Regions from separate parts of the Homo sapiens genome. Here region 1 is linked to region 2. The links are contacts of gene promoters, found by promoter capture Hi-C in human tissues and cell types (Jung and others, 2019). All regions are on one chromosome and are shown on one strand. Each heading gives the region's core, a stretch centred on a gene start or on the middle of the fragment in contact. The rest is flanking DNA. Distances are from core to core; before and after follow the strand shown. Region 1 overlaps CACNB2 (calcium voltage-gated channel auxiliary subunit beta 2). Region 2 holds the start of CACNB2 (calcium voltage-gated channel auxiliary subunit beta 2).

What was found. Contacts are between HindIII fragments. The study calls those that stand out against the background at their distance.
Region 1: a contact is called between a fragment that was not itself captured here and the fragment with the promoter of CACNB2 in region 2, in 2 of the 25 tissues and cell types used here (aorta and pancreas).

Annotation. Positions count from the first base shown.
Region 1 is chr10:18,225,298-18,231,938 of GRCh38, forward strand. The region is part of intron 2 of CACNB2 (calcium voltage-gated channel auxiliary subunit beta 2); the gene reads left to right. Among named protein-coding and RNA genes, the nearest start is that of CACNB2-AS2, 33 kb to the right of the region's middle. The HindIII fragment of the contact is 9,297 bases long and covers 1-6,426 here.
Region 2 is chr10:18,135,767-18,142,263 of GRCh38, forward strand. CACNB2 (calcium voltage-gated channel auxiliary subunit beta 2) reads left to right here and starts at 4,658. Exons shown (of 14, transcript NM_201596.3): 1 at 4,658-5,090. The coding sequence starts at 4,971. RefSeq lists an enhancer at 157-1,123. The HindIII fragment of the contact is 13,208 bases long and covers 1-6,497 here.

The sequences.
Region 1 (6,641 bases), core at 528-3,027, 87 kb after region 2:
ACACCACTCACTTCCAGTTTATTAAGTCCCTACTTGATGCAAACTTTTCGTAGGTCACCTCAAAATATTACAACAGCCTTTCATGATAAATATTAGATGCCCCATTTTACAATGTAAGAAACTGAGGGTTTAAGAAATATGGCCTGGGTCCAGGACTGAACCAGGATTCGTGACACCACAGGCAGGCTCTGTGTTAGTCTTCATTCAAATAATTTTCTCTCTCTCTTTTCTTTTCTTTTTCTTTCTTTTCTTTCTTTTCCCTCCCTCCCTCCCTCCCTCGCTCCTTCCTTCCTTCCTTCCTTCCTTTCTTCCGTCGTTTCTTCCTTCCTTCCTTTCTTTCTTTTCCTTTCTTTCATCTTTTTGGCAGGGTCTCCCTCTGTCACCCAGGCTAGAGTGCAGTGGTGCCATCATAGCTCACGGCAACCTCCACCTCCCGGGCTCTAATGATCTTCCCACCTCAGTCACCCTAGTAGCTGGAACTACAGATGTGCACCATCACACCTGGATAAGTTTTTAAATTTTTGTAGAAATGGGGTCCCACTATGTTGCTCAGGCTGGTCTCCAGCTCCTGGGCTTAAGTGATCCTCCTGCCTCAGCCTTCCAAAGCACTGGGATTACAGGTGTGAAGCACTGGACCTGGCCTAATTTTCAAATATTAAAGACATGTTCTTAGTGGAGGGCAGGCTAGCATGATGAGAGATGCTTTTTTTTAATTTTCTTTTCTTTTCTTTTCTTTTTTTTTTTCTTGAGACAGGGTCTTGCTGTGTAGCCCGGGCTGGAGTGCTGTGGTGTGATCTAGGCTTACTGCAACCTCCGCCTCCTGGGCTGAAGTGATCCTCCCACCTCATCCTCCCTGGTAGCTGGGACTACAGGTGTGTGCCACCATGCCTGGCTAATTTTTGTATTTTTGGTAGCGAAGAGGTTTTGCCATGTTGCCCAGGCTAATTTCGAACTCCTGAGCTCAAGTGATCCATTCACCTCAGCCTCCCAGAGTACTGGGATTACAGGTGTGAGCCACCGCCCCCAGACGGATGGTTTTAAGTTTCTATTGACTGGCATCGGCTACTTCAGCAGAAGCTGGATCCATAATGCATTTTGTTAGCTTTGTAAGAGTTACAGTGAGATCTGAGTTAACTATTCCTTTTCCCAAATTACCCTAGTGATGTTTTAATGCTCCTTATAAACCAGTCCCCTGCTGTGGTTCCTTCATTTGGTATGACCCCAGGCTACACAGCCAGTAAGAGGCAGAGATGGGGATTTAAAACCTGATCTTCCTGTTTGTTGCTTCTACGATCTGCCGGCACTTCTTGAGATTCATGAGCGTGTGGCCGTATGATCACTAATGAATTAACTCAATCAATATCAATTGAATGTCTATTCTGTCTTACATTTGTATACTGTTTAATGGTTTACAAACAGTTTTTGCAGGTATAATCTCATTTAAATCTTACCCAGAAACCACAGGAAAGAAGTAAGCCAGGAAATATCAAACCACCCCAAGACACAGGCAGAATACAGCCAGGATTTTAACTCCTGTCTTTTAACTCCCAGTTTTGCCACACTGTACAGGTCTGCGGTTATTGGTGTCTCTTTCAGATGTTGCTACTATCCAGCCTGGGAATATGGAAAAAAAGTGGGGGAGGAGGGAGCGAGGGTTATTTAGCTGCACTTTCAAATCAAGGAGAATGGCCACTTAAATGAGACTATTTCTTCACCCATAGCTCTGAGGATGACATTAGCAGCCCACATTAGAGGCAGAAAAAGAAATCTCCCTTCTGAAAAGACCATAATGATAAAACAACACGTTTTCTGAAATGATAGGAAGAATTTTATGTCGAATATCGTAATGGGGTCAGTAGCACTTCTCAGAAGGGAGGTCAGCAAACTGGGTCTTGGTGAGTGCATCAGATCAAAGCAAAAGAAGGAGAAGGGGCAGTGCCTTCTGTACCGAGAGGAGGAGCAGAAGCACAGGCATAGCTGTGATCCAGAAGCGCAGATTTGGGGCCCCTGGTTGCTGGATGGCCAGGGGGAGGATTTGGTGTGGGCTGGGGAGTGGCTGGAGGCTCTGGAGGCTTCCATGTCAGAGGGTATGCAGTCAAAGAGAGATAGGAGAAAAAAAATACCCCAGCTCGGAATGAACTGATGGATGGAAGGAGGAGGAAAGCGCAGAGATGGGGGTACTAACGTTATTTCAATTCAGTAGTGTTCCATGAAAGGCACATAAAGGCAAAGCAAACCCAAATGCCAAAGGAGCTGAGAAATCAAAGAGACAGTTTGTTGGAACTGGGTGATTTATTGAGGGAACTTAACAACAGAAAGGTGGTCTTGGGCGGCCGCAAGACAGGCAGATCTCTGCGCTGTTACTTTCCAGACCCAGCGCTTATCTACCATAGGGAAAGGGAGTATGCGCTCCAGCAAGGTGATTAAAGGCACCCTCCAGAATAGACAAGTATGCTGCGTGCCTCACCGCCTATAATTTGTGCAGTGACGTTAAGGTTGACATGTTGTCATACAAGAGACAGTAAATAAAGTAGGAATCAAAAGGCATTTATTGGACTGGGGCTCATCAGAAGTCAACATGGTGAATTAACATCCAAGATAGAGTCACTTTTGTCTCCACTCCAACATCATAAATTTGATGATTGAGAGAGTGAGAAGATGCTAGTGCTGTCTTCAGTGCATGCTCTGAAAGGAGGAAAAAAAAATTTGCAGTCAACATTTTTACATTCTTTCAGGGTAGGGGACAGCCTTTTCCACAGAGTGTCTTTTGGTGTACAAATGAAAACCTCACCCTCAAAAGGTTGGGTTAGTTGATGGTTCATTTGGGGGGAAAAAGAAAAATAGGCCGGACGCGGTGACTCACGCCTTGTAATCCTAGCACTTAGGGAGGCCAAGGCGGGTGAATCACCTAAGGCCAGGAGTTCGAGACCAGCGTGGTCAACATGGTGAAACCTTGTCTCTACTAAAAAAAATAAATTCAAAGTTAGCCGGATGTGGTGGCACATGCCTGTAATCCCAGCTACTTGGGAGGCTGAGGCAGGAGAACAATCGCTTGAACTTGGAAGGCAGAGGTTGCGGTGAGCCGAGATGGCGACATTGCACTCCAGCCTGAGCAACAAGAGCAAAACTCTACCTCAAAAAAAAAAAAAAAAGAAAAAAAAAAAGAAAAGAAAAAACATAATACATTGTTTTTAGGCAAAGATGGAAAGCATCTTATTAGTCTTACCAGACATGAAAGAATAGTGAAGGATGTATCCTCAAAAGACAACCTCCTGTATTTGAATCCAGGTCTTTCACGTCCTGGATGTGTGATCTTGTACAAGTTAGTGTCGGTAGGACAGTTGGAAGAACACATGGGACAGATATCACTCAATGACTTGCAGAGACAGCCTGTGTCAGTTTTGTTGTGAGTGGCTCGTTTTTACCCTCTTCCCTCTTAATGGATTTTTTTTTTCTTTTGAGACAGAGTTTCACTCTTGTCACCCAGGTTGGAGTGCAATGGTGCGATCCCAGCTCGCTGCAGCCTCTGCCTCCTGGGTTCAAGGATTCTCCTGCCTCAGCCTCCCAAGTAGCTGGGATTACAAGCATGTGCCACCATGCCTGGCTAATTATTTTTGTATTTTTAGTAGAGATGGGGTTTCACCACGTGGGCCAAGCTGGTCTCGAACTCCTGACCTCAAGTGATCCACCTGCCTCAGCCTCACAAAGTGGTGGGATTACAGGCATGAGCCACCGCATCCGGCTCTCTTAATGGATTTCTTTGCAGTTCTAAAAAGCATTGTTACAGCAAATATATACACAAGCAAGATAAACTATCTGAACTGTGTTTCTTATTTGGTCATGTAAGTAATGATAGTGTAATTAGTGTGAGAAATTAGTATTATTTATTAGTATGCATAATATTAGAATATTAATTAAGGAAAGGAGATCAGCATGTTGGCAATCTGAAGACTAAATCCATAATTTCAATTACATGATTTTATTTATTCTTATAAAACAAGAATCGTTATTCCCATATTGAGGGGTTGAGGCAGAAGTTCAAAACTTTAGTTGTATTTCTGCTTGGGAAAATAGCAGAGATCTAAAATTAGTCTTATTAGACCACAGATATGTACCCAGCCAAATTTAATGTGGGATTTTAAAGTTCATGGAGTTAAATAGTTCAAAGTAGCACTGTACAAAGCAAATAGAAAATGCACTTTTAAACTTTTTTCAATTTTGCTTGGTAAGATATGAAAATCATTTAAGGAATGTATTTATATTTTTATGATAATCCTTAAAATATTTAGCAGCATGAAAAATGTATTAAAATATTAACAAAATGACAGGCTTTTTAAAAGGACAGTTCTTTAGTAGGTATCATATTTGTTAAATCAAAAGAAAACACTCTTCTATGGTAAACAGTCCTAATTTTTAGCTATAGATTCATATATTTATAGGTTGGTTTATAGTTATGTTTGTCAATGAAGTATTATAGCTATGATGTTAGAGCCCTTTTTAGAAGGATGTTTATGGTAATTTTTATGTAGTTAAATAGATTCAAATTAAGATGTACTACGGTAAAATTACATATGGCATTACTCCTACCATTTGGAGAAACTGGAATATGCCATGCAACCTTTAGTATCGAAACTCGACACCCACTTTCAAAACAGCAAGCATAGAGAAATCTTGTGATTTATTCCTCCATAAGTCAGCCTCATGAATCCTGGTGACAGCAATTATTTTGATCTGAATCACTCAGTGACCAATTCTTAGTTCACTGATTGCATTCCATGAATATTACAGCATCATCTGTACCTAACATAGGAAATTATTGACATCATATTTTACATAGTTGGTTCAAAAGGGCTAACTCATTAGAATGAGGGAGACAGAGAGAGCATCCCCAACTCCCTTGTTCTCCAAGATAGAATTGTTAGAAGAAAAAGTAATAGAAATGTCAGAAATAAATCAAATCAACAGCATACATTTCTGCAGCAATGAACTTTCCTTGTTGTTAGAAAATAAAAGCAAGAAGAATGAACCCTCTCTTCTACAGAAAACTTCTTCTTTCACACTCAAGTTGCCTGTTCCCTCGATCTTTTTTTTGTACTGTTATTAAACACATGAATATAAATTCATATGGGGAAAAGTTTATAGACCATGGTATGATTGGAACTAGTCCCAGAAAATAAAGGCATCTAACAGCATGCATGTACAGTATGTGTTGTTATAAGGCAGTTCCTTGAGATTTAAAAACCTCAAGATATGTGGTACTAAATAGGAATAAGGAACAAGAATGAAAGGAAGGTGAGAAAAACACGAGTTTTCTCTTGGAAAAATCTATAAATGATTACTGAAGTAAAATATGTCATTCTTAAAGAATCATAGACATTTAGAAATCAGACAGAGTATTAAGAATATTAAAGATCATGTCACCAAAAGTCCTCACCTCTTACTAAATGGGGAGACGTATTTTATTTCTTTAATGTAAATGATAAATGATCATTTCAAGTCCCACATGAGGTGAAACTGACCATAAGAAGGAGATCATTTTTTGTAGCTTTTTTTTTTTTGGTAGCTTCTAGTTAATACTTCTATACAAGAAGGGATTAAAATGAACCATAAATTCTTTCCAGACAAAAAGAAAAACCCAGAAATTTCTCAATGGCAATGTGCATATTTTGCAGCTTGTGTCAGTTAGGGGAGGAGAGAAGGAAGGTTAGTAGGCTGAAACGAAAGGATGCGTCTCAGTGTTTTGTGTATTCTAATAGCATGTACAGAAAGAAGTAGCCCTGGCTAGGAATGGTCCACATGCAAACTAAAAAGTATTGCCCTACATCTTAGGCCTTTGGTTGCCATAATGCATGGCTTGTGGTATCATGTTCAACTCTTTTTTCTTCTTCTTCTTTTTTGAGACAGCGTTTTGCTCTGTTGCCCAGGCTAGAGTGCAGTGGCCCGATCTCGGCTCACTGCAACCTCCACCTCCCAGGTTCAAGTGATTCTCCTGCCTCAGCCTCCCAAGTAGCTGGGATTACAGGCAGGCGCCACCACACCCAGCTAAACTTTTTGTATTTTTAGTAGAGATGGGGTTTCGCCATGTTGGCCAGGCTGGTCTCAAACTCTTGACCTCAGGTGATCCACCTGCCTCGGCCTCCCAAAGTGCTGGGATTACAGGCATGAGCCACCATGCCACGCCATGTTCAAATCCTTATGTCTTGTGTATCTCTTTATGTATTTGAATCCTCTTCCCAATTAGACTGCAATCTCTTTTAGAGAATGTGGCTTATTGTTATCACCTGTTTCTTATCCATTGAACCTTCACTGGCACATAAAATGGCGCCTTATAGAAACTTGACAGTACGGTAAGTGATTGATTGACAGCTGTACCTTTAAAATAGAAACTTGCTGTCCTGGATCTATGTGATTCAGGGGTAAAGCATGCTGAAGACTTAAGTTCTAAATCAGATTCTTGTTTGCTCCCTGAGTCTCTCTGAGAGTTCTAATTGCTCTTTTATTCAAGACTCATTGTTCACTGTGTATGTCTCAAAGTAGTTTCAGCCCTCATCACTCCCCTGCTGAAACCCCTTTGTAAGCAACAAGAAGTATTTCTTTTCTTTTGTACAACTCTTAGCAGTGATTGTGATAAAATCTGTATA
Region 2 (6,497 bases), core at 3,408-5,907:
ATGCATCATACCAAGTCAGGCCAGTGGCCAATACAGCTATATATCCTTATGAAAATGCTATTAATAGTGGTGGAAATTCAGGACTTTCAGTGAGGTGTAAAATGATTTACTGAGTAAAATGAGAAATCATACATGTGTATCTGTCCTAAAAAGCTCTTTCTTTAAGGTGTTAAATGTAGTCACAAATCTGCAAGCAGGAGAGGAAGAATAAAGCACTTGTAATCACTGTTTCTTCCACTTACAGAAAAAATAATCTTTTAAAACGTCTGGCTTCATTAGCCAGTGTCTCTTACCAGCCCCTGTTCCTATTTCAGAGCATTAGTAATTCCCAGAATATGTCTGTCCATTACAACAACTAATGAGCACAAGGAAGCTAACATACAGCTTGAATAAATTAGTCATCTGCATTTGAATGCGTCGATGGCACATCCATTATTGCTGGAGTCTCTTGCATCTGCTTAACTTTTAACATGAAAAGAATTAGGCTTTACTTACCAAATTTTTGCTTTCCTCTGTGGCTTTTAAATATTGCGCAAGTCAAAGAATCTTAAAAACAAGATCAACCGTGATTGAAGGCATCTATACATTTTCCAAGTCTTTTTATTCTGTTTATTCTGATTTTGCTCCCTTTTTCAGGAGTAACATTTTGTTACTCTGTGTTTGAAATCTTTTACAAGCCAGACAAGAGTCTGAATGGGTACATTGTATTGGATTAGTGTTCAATGCATGCTAATTAAACTAGTTTGAGTTATAAAGGAAGAAGTAGTATAATGTTCTCATGGGAGTCAGGCTTAGGTAAATGTTGTCATTGTACGTTAAAACTGGCAAAGTTGTATGCTGTGTTTTAAGACGCAAGAAGTCATTCAACATTCATGCATTCATTTAGACAACAAATGTTTTCACGTTCTAACTAAGTGGCAGACACCATGCTGGGTGGTGCTGGGGATACTAAGATGAAAAAGACGCCATCACTGCCCTCAAGGAACCCTATCTAGTGGTAGGGAGAAACATAAAAAAACAGGGAGTTCATATTATGAATTATATGAAATGAATATATTGTATTACATTTGAACATTTAATTCAAACTTTACTTGCCCTCTGGTTATAAGCGTTATTAAAATTATTTTCAAGGTTTTGATTTTTTTGCGGTCTCTTTAAACATCTGATGAAAGATGAAATTCTACTTCCCAAATGGTCCTAATTGAAAGCGAATGCACAAATAAGCATGCTATAAGAAACTGGACAGACATCATGAGAAAACACTCAGTTTCACCAAACCTGGTGTTTTTTTTTAAATAATGTTTCTTCTTTTGTTTTCTCCTTCCTTCCTTCCTTCCTTCCTTCCTTCCTTCCTTCCTTCCTTCCTCCCTCCCTCCCTCCCTTCTTTCCTTCATTTATTAATTGGCTTTTAAGTGCTAACTAGCAAGACTGTAAGCCCCATGGAGCTGGTAACCTGGTCTTTGTTGGCTGTGCTCATCAGGTGGCACAAAATAGAAGCTTGATTCATACTTTATTGGATGACTATTGAAAGAACTCAGAGGGCAACTTGCCAGATTCTGAATGTGTCCTAGAGAATAAGTGTGGTTCCTGTCCACACAGAGTTTACAGTCTGAAATGGATTTAATGTTTTCCCTAAGATTTAAACACATGCTCAAGAAAACTTCACAGTTTGATTAAATGAGTAGGCCTAAAACAGTGATATTATCAACAGAGCATGGGGCAAAAGTAGACTATAAGTCGAAAACTTTAAACACAATTTCTTTTCCATTTTCACACACACATACATACAGGCATACATATAAAAGCATGGCTGATTGTTGCTGTTCAAAATGTTCCCATTTTAGAAATTATTACAAACCAATATTTAAGTGCTGCTGTTTAACATTCAGCAAAATTTAAATAAAAGTGGCATTTTAATTTTTTTAATTTTATTTTTCCATAAGTTATTGGGGTACAGGTGGTATTCGGTTACATGAGTAAGTTCTTTAGTGGAGATTTGTGAGAACCTGGTACACCCATCAACCTAGCAGTATACCTTGCACCATATTTGTTGTCTTTTATCCCGTGCCCCCTCCCACACTTCCCCCCAAGTCACCAAAGTCCATTGTATCATTCTTATGCCTTTGCATCCTCATAGCTTAGCTCCCACATGTCAGTGAGAACATATGATGTTCGATTTTCCATTCCTGAGTTACTTCACTTAGAATAATAGTCTCTAATCTCATCCAGGTCATTGCAAATGCTGTTAATTTATTTCTTTTCATGGCTGAGTAGTATCCCATCATCATATATATCAGAGTTTCTTTATCACCTCGTTGATTGATGGGCATTTGGGTTGGTTCCACAATTTTGCTACTGTGAATTGTGCTGCTGTAAACATGCATGTGCAAGTATATTTTTTGAATCATGACTTCTTTTCCTCTGGGTAGATACCCAGTAGTGGCATTGCTACATCAAATGGTAGTTCTACTTTTAGTCCTTTAAGGAATCTCCACACTGTTTTCCATAGTGGCTGTACTAGTTTACATTCCCACCAGCAGTGCAGAAGTGTTCCCTGATCACTGCATCCATGCCAACATCTGTTTTTTGATTCTTTGATTATGGTCATTCTTACAGGGGTAAGGTGGTATCACTTTGTGGTTTTGAGTTGCATTTCCCTGATCATTATTGATGTTGAGCATTTTCTCATATGTTTGTTGGCCATTTGTATATCTTCTTTTGAGAATTTTCTATTTGTGTCCGTAGCCCATAAAAGTGGCATTTTTAATACCAAAGTTTAGGAAAATCAATGATGCTTTATGGCTAAATCTTTAACTGTATCAAGACCCATTCTTTAAGCCTGGCGCAAATCAGTGCTATGGTGGAGATGATAGGTTTAAAATGTCTATGCTTATCTTTGAGGAGAAAAGTACTGTATCTCATGTAATTTAATATATCATAGTAAACTATAGAAGGCAGTTGAAGCCTATTATAGTAAATTTTTGCATGTGTATTTCAATATACCAAACTTTCAGTTTGTTGTTACAAAATAACATATAAATAGGTTTCTGGAGCTGGATGGGCACGGTGGCTCACACCTGTAATCCCAGCACTTTGGGAGGCCAAGGTGGGCGGATCATGAGGTCAGGAGTTTGCGACCAGCCTGGCCAACATGGCGAAACCCTGTCTCTACTAAAAAATACAAAAATTAGGCTGGATGCAGTGGCTCAAATCTGTAATCCCAGCACTTTGGGAGGCAGAGGCGGGCAGATCACCTGAGGTCAGGAGTTCGAGACCAGCCTGGGCAACGTGGTGAAACCCCATCTCTACTAAAAATACAAAAAAATTAGCCGGCTGTGGTGGCGTGCACCTGTAATCCCAGCTACTCGGGAGGCTGAGGCAGGAGAATGGATTGAACCCAGGAGGCGAAGGTTGCAGTGAGCCAAGATCGTGCCACTGTATTCCTGCCTGGGTGACAAGAGTGAAATTCTGTCTCAAAAAAAAAAAAAAAAAAATGCCTGGAAAACTCATTACAGAAGTTTCCACTGTAGTAAAATTTGTTGAAATAAGTTGCACTCAATCATGTAAAAATGTGGCTCCTTGGGACTATCTGAACGGAATGTTGTAAGTGAAACACCCTCACCATAGTCACTATCCTGTTATCAAGAATTCTGGATCTTAAGGAAGTGCTTGTTTTGTCAAAAATGTGACACTAAGACTTTTCACCCCTATAGAAAAACCTCAACCCTGGCCTGGCGTGGTGTCCCACCCCTGTGATCCCAGCACTTTGGGAGGCCGAGGCCGGTGGATTACTTGAGGTCAGGAGTTCAAGACCAGCCCGGGCAACATGGTGAAACCCCGTCTGCACTAAAAACACAAAAATTATCTGGGCTTGGTGGCCTGTGGCTGTAATCCCAGCTATTCGTGAGGCTGAGGCTAGAGAATCGCTTGAACCCAGGAGGCGGAGGTTGCAGTGAGCTGAGATCGCGCCATTGCACTCCAGCCTGGGCGACAGAGTGAGACTCCGTCTAAAACAACAACAAGCAACAACAACAACAAACTTCAATTATGTTTGGAAAGAAGTGCTAATTTAATTTGGCAAAGATGAAGACAGCAGTCATAAAGCAAAACATTCGGTCTCAGGTTGGGTGGATTCCCACCTAGTTGACGAGGCCAGCTGCAGATTCAGGTGGGATCACCTGATGATCTTTATCAATGCCATTTCTTTCTCTGGATCCTTATTACTGACATTAGCAAGGGCTTTCAGCTGCCCAGAAGATGTTCTTTGCAGACATTTGCTCTCCCGGGCTGCCAGCAGGCTTTACAAATTTAAAACTTTCAGTGTAGGAACCCAGCCTCCGTCGTCCTTCCCCTCCAAAGTTAAGAGATCTGCTCTAAGGGTTCCTGAGGGGTGGTCTGGGGCCATGGGAACAGGATCAAGGCCCCCTGAGCGCCGGGCCTGGCTTCTGTGGCTTCGCAAACTTTTCAGCCTGTGTGCCACGGCGACGCGCAGCGGCTGAGTCGGAGCCCACGCGGCGCGCGCCTCCCGCGAGGAACTTTTCGGCTTGTAGGCTGCTTGTCACTCTCGCTTTCCGACGCGCCTCCCCCTGGCTCGCGCTCCCGGAGTTCCCTCCCCTCCTGGCGAGGACCTTTCCCGGCGCCCGCGGCTCCGATCCCCGCCGCGCTGCGCCCGCTCTCCCGGCCCCGGCTGCCCCGCTGAGGGCTCCCCTCTCCCAGGCACCGCAGCCGCGCCCCCGCGTCCCGCCTCCCGAGCGGCTCGCTTCGCCCGATGCCCCGGCCCCGTCCCGCGCACTGAGCGCCTGGCAGCAGGGCGCCGAGTCCCGGGGCGCTGCGGGGCGCTGCGCCGAGAACGGCCGGGCCTGAGCCCTGGGCGGCCCCCAGAGCCGATCAGAGCGCGGGGAGGCGGGGGCGAGGAGGAGGGGACCCGCCGCCGGGGGCTGGCTGCTTCGCTCCGAGCCGACTTTTCGCCAATGGTCCAAAGGGACATGTCCAAGTCGCCTCCCACAGCGGCGGCGGCGGTGGCGCAGGAGATCCAGATGGAACTGCTAGAGAACGTGGCTCCCGCGGGGGCGCTCGGAGCCGCCGCACAGGTAGCGAGAGCGCGGCGCCTTCTCCTTCCTTTGTGAGCCGCCGGGCAGGGCACCGACCTCGGGTTCTCCCGGCGCCTCCACTGCAGGGATCTCTAGCCTCGCACCTCCTCCCCTCGTCGCCTGCCCACCCTCTGCTCCTCTCCTGGCGCCGGGGACCCTGCCCCTTTGCGCCTTTTCCTGGCTCTGCCTCGGCTTCCATTTTTCTCTGCTTCCGAAAAGCCAGTGGGGAAGGGCGGGGGAGACCTGCCAGTCCTCCCAGACTTCTCCCGGGTTGCTCCAGCTGGCCCTCCTCGCCCCTTCCCGGGAGAGGCACATGGAGAGACATGAATCAGGGGAGTGGACTGGACCTGCTGAAGATCGTGAGTCCGGGTGGGCGGGAGGGGGCCCGCTTCCCGCAGCGCTTTCTACGATGCCGACTCTCCTGGCCACGCTCCGAGCCGGGGTGGGCGTGGGTGTGAGGATGATGGGGTGCAGGTGGGCAGGAGGGGAGCGAATATGGGGGTGCCCTGCCGGATCCCCCCAGAGCTGCCCGGACCACGCTGCGCACCTGGGGCTGACAGCTCTCCAGTCCCCTCGGGCACTTGCCAAGGTTTGCCTGTCCCACCTCATGCCTTTCCCTTAAGAAGCGAGTGAGCTGGGGACAAGAAAGTTTTTATTTTTCCGTCTCCCCTGAAATGTTAGCCATTTCAGGGATCTCCAGGATCCCCTTTCTCTCCGTTGAGTGTTTGCGGTTTCTGGAAAAAGTCAGCTTCGCTGCAGGTTGTTGTGAAATTGGAGATGTCAGTTGTAGGCGCTGGGCAATGACAAGGTGGTTTTTACGTTTTTACGTAAGGCTTCAGCAGGTACAGTTTGGGTTACAGACACCTCCAGGTCTCAGCGATGAGGAGTCGCTCAACTTTTCTCCCGGCAGGGAAATGACTTCAGACTCCTAGCTGCGGGCTGGCTGTTGGCTGGCCAGTGATGTGAAGAGGTCTTGGTTACATTTCAGGCAGCATTCTGGAGAAATGTCTGTTTGCTTAACTGTGTTGGCTTGTTGATTTCAAGCCTACATTTGCCAGATTTTAATTTGCGGTAAGATATATATGTGTGTGTATATATACTTATATATTAATACGTAGACACACATACACACACTAGAGAGCATGTTAGAGTATCATTTGCTGTAGTAGTGGGGGCAGGAGTGTGACAAGCTAATAAAGGTGGCAAATGTTTTCTTGCTGTTGTTTTGATAGGTGGAACATGAGTGCTCTAGATATTTTGATATTGTAATCATGGCAGTTCCAAGTGGCATAGTAGTCTAGCTTTATTGAACTTTCTTTTACCATTGGGAAATTAATGTGCTAACTTAAAACACATAATTCACTTTGACTTGAGAAGGGGAAGAATGTGGACACCAAGGACTTGTGT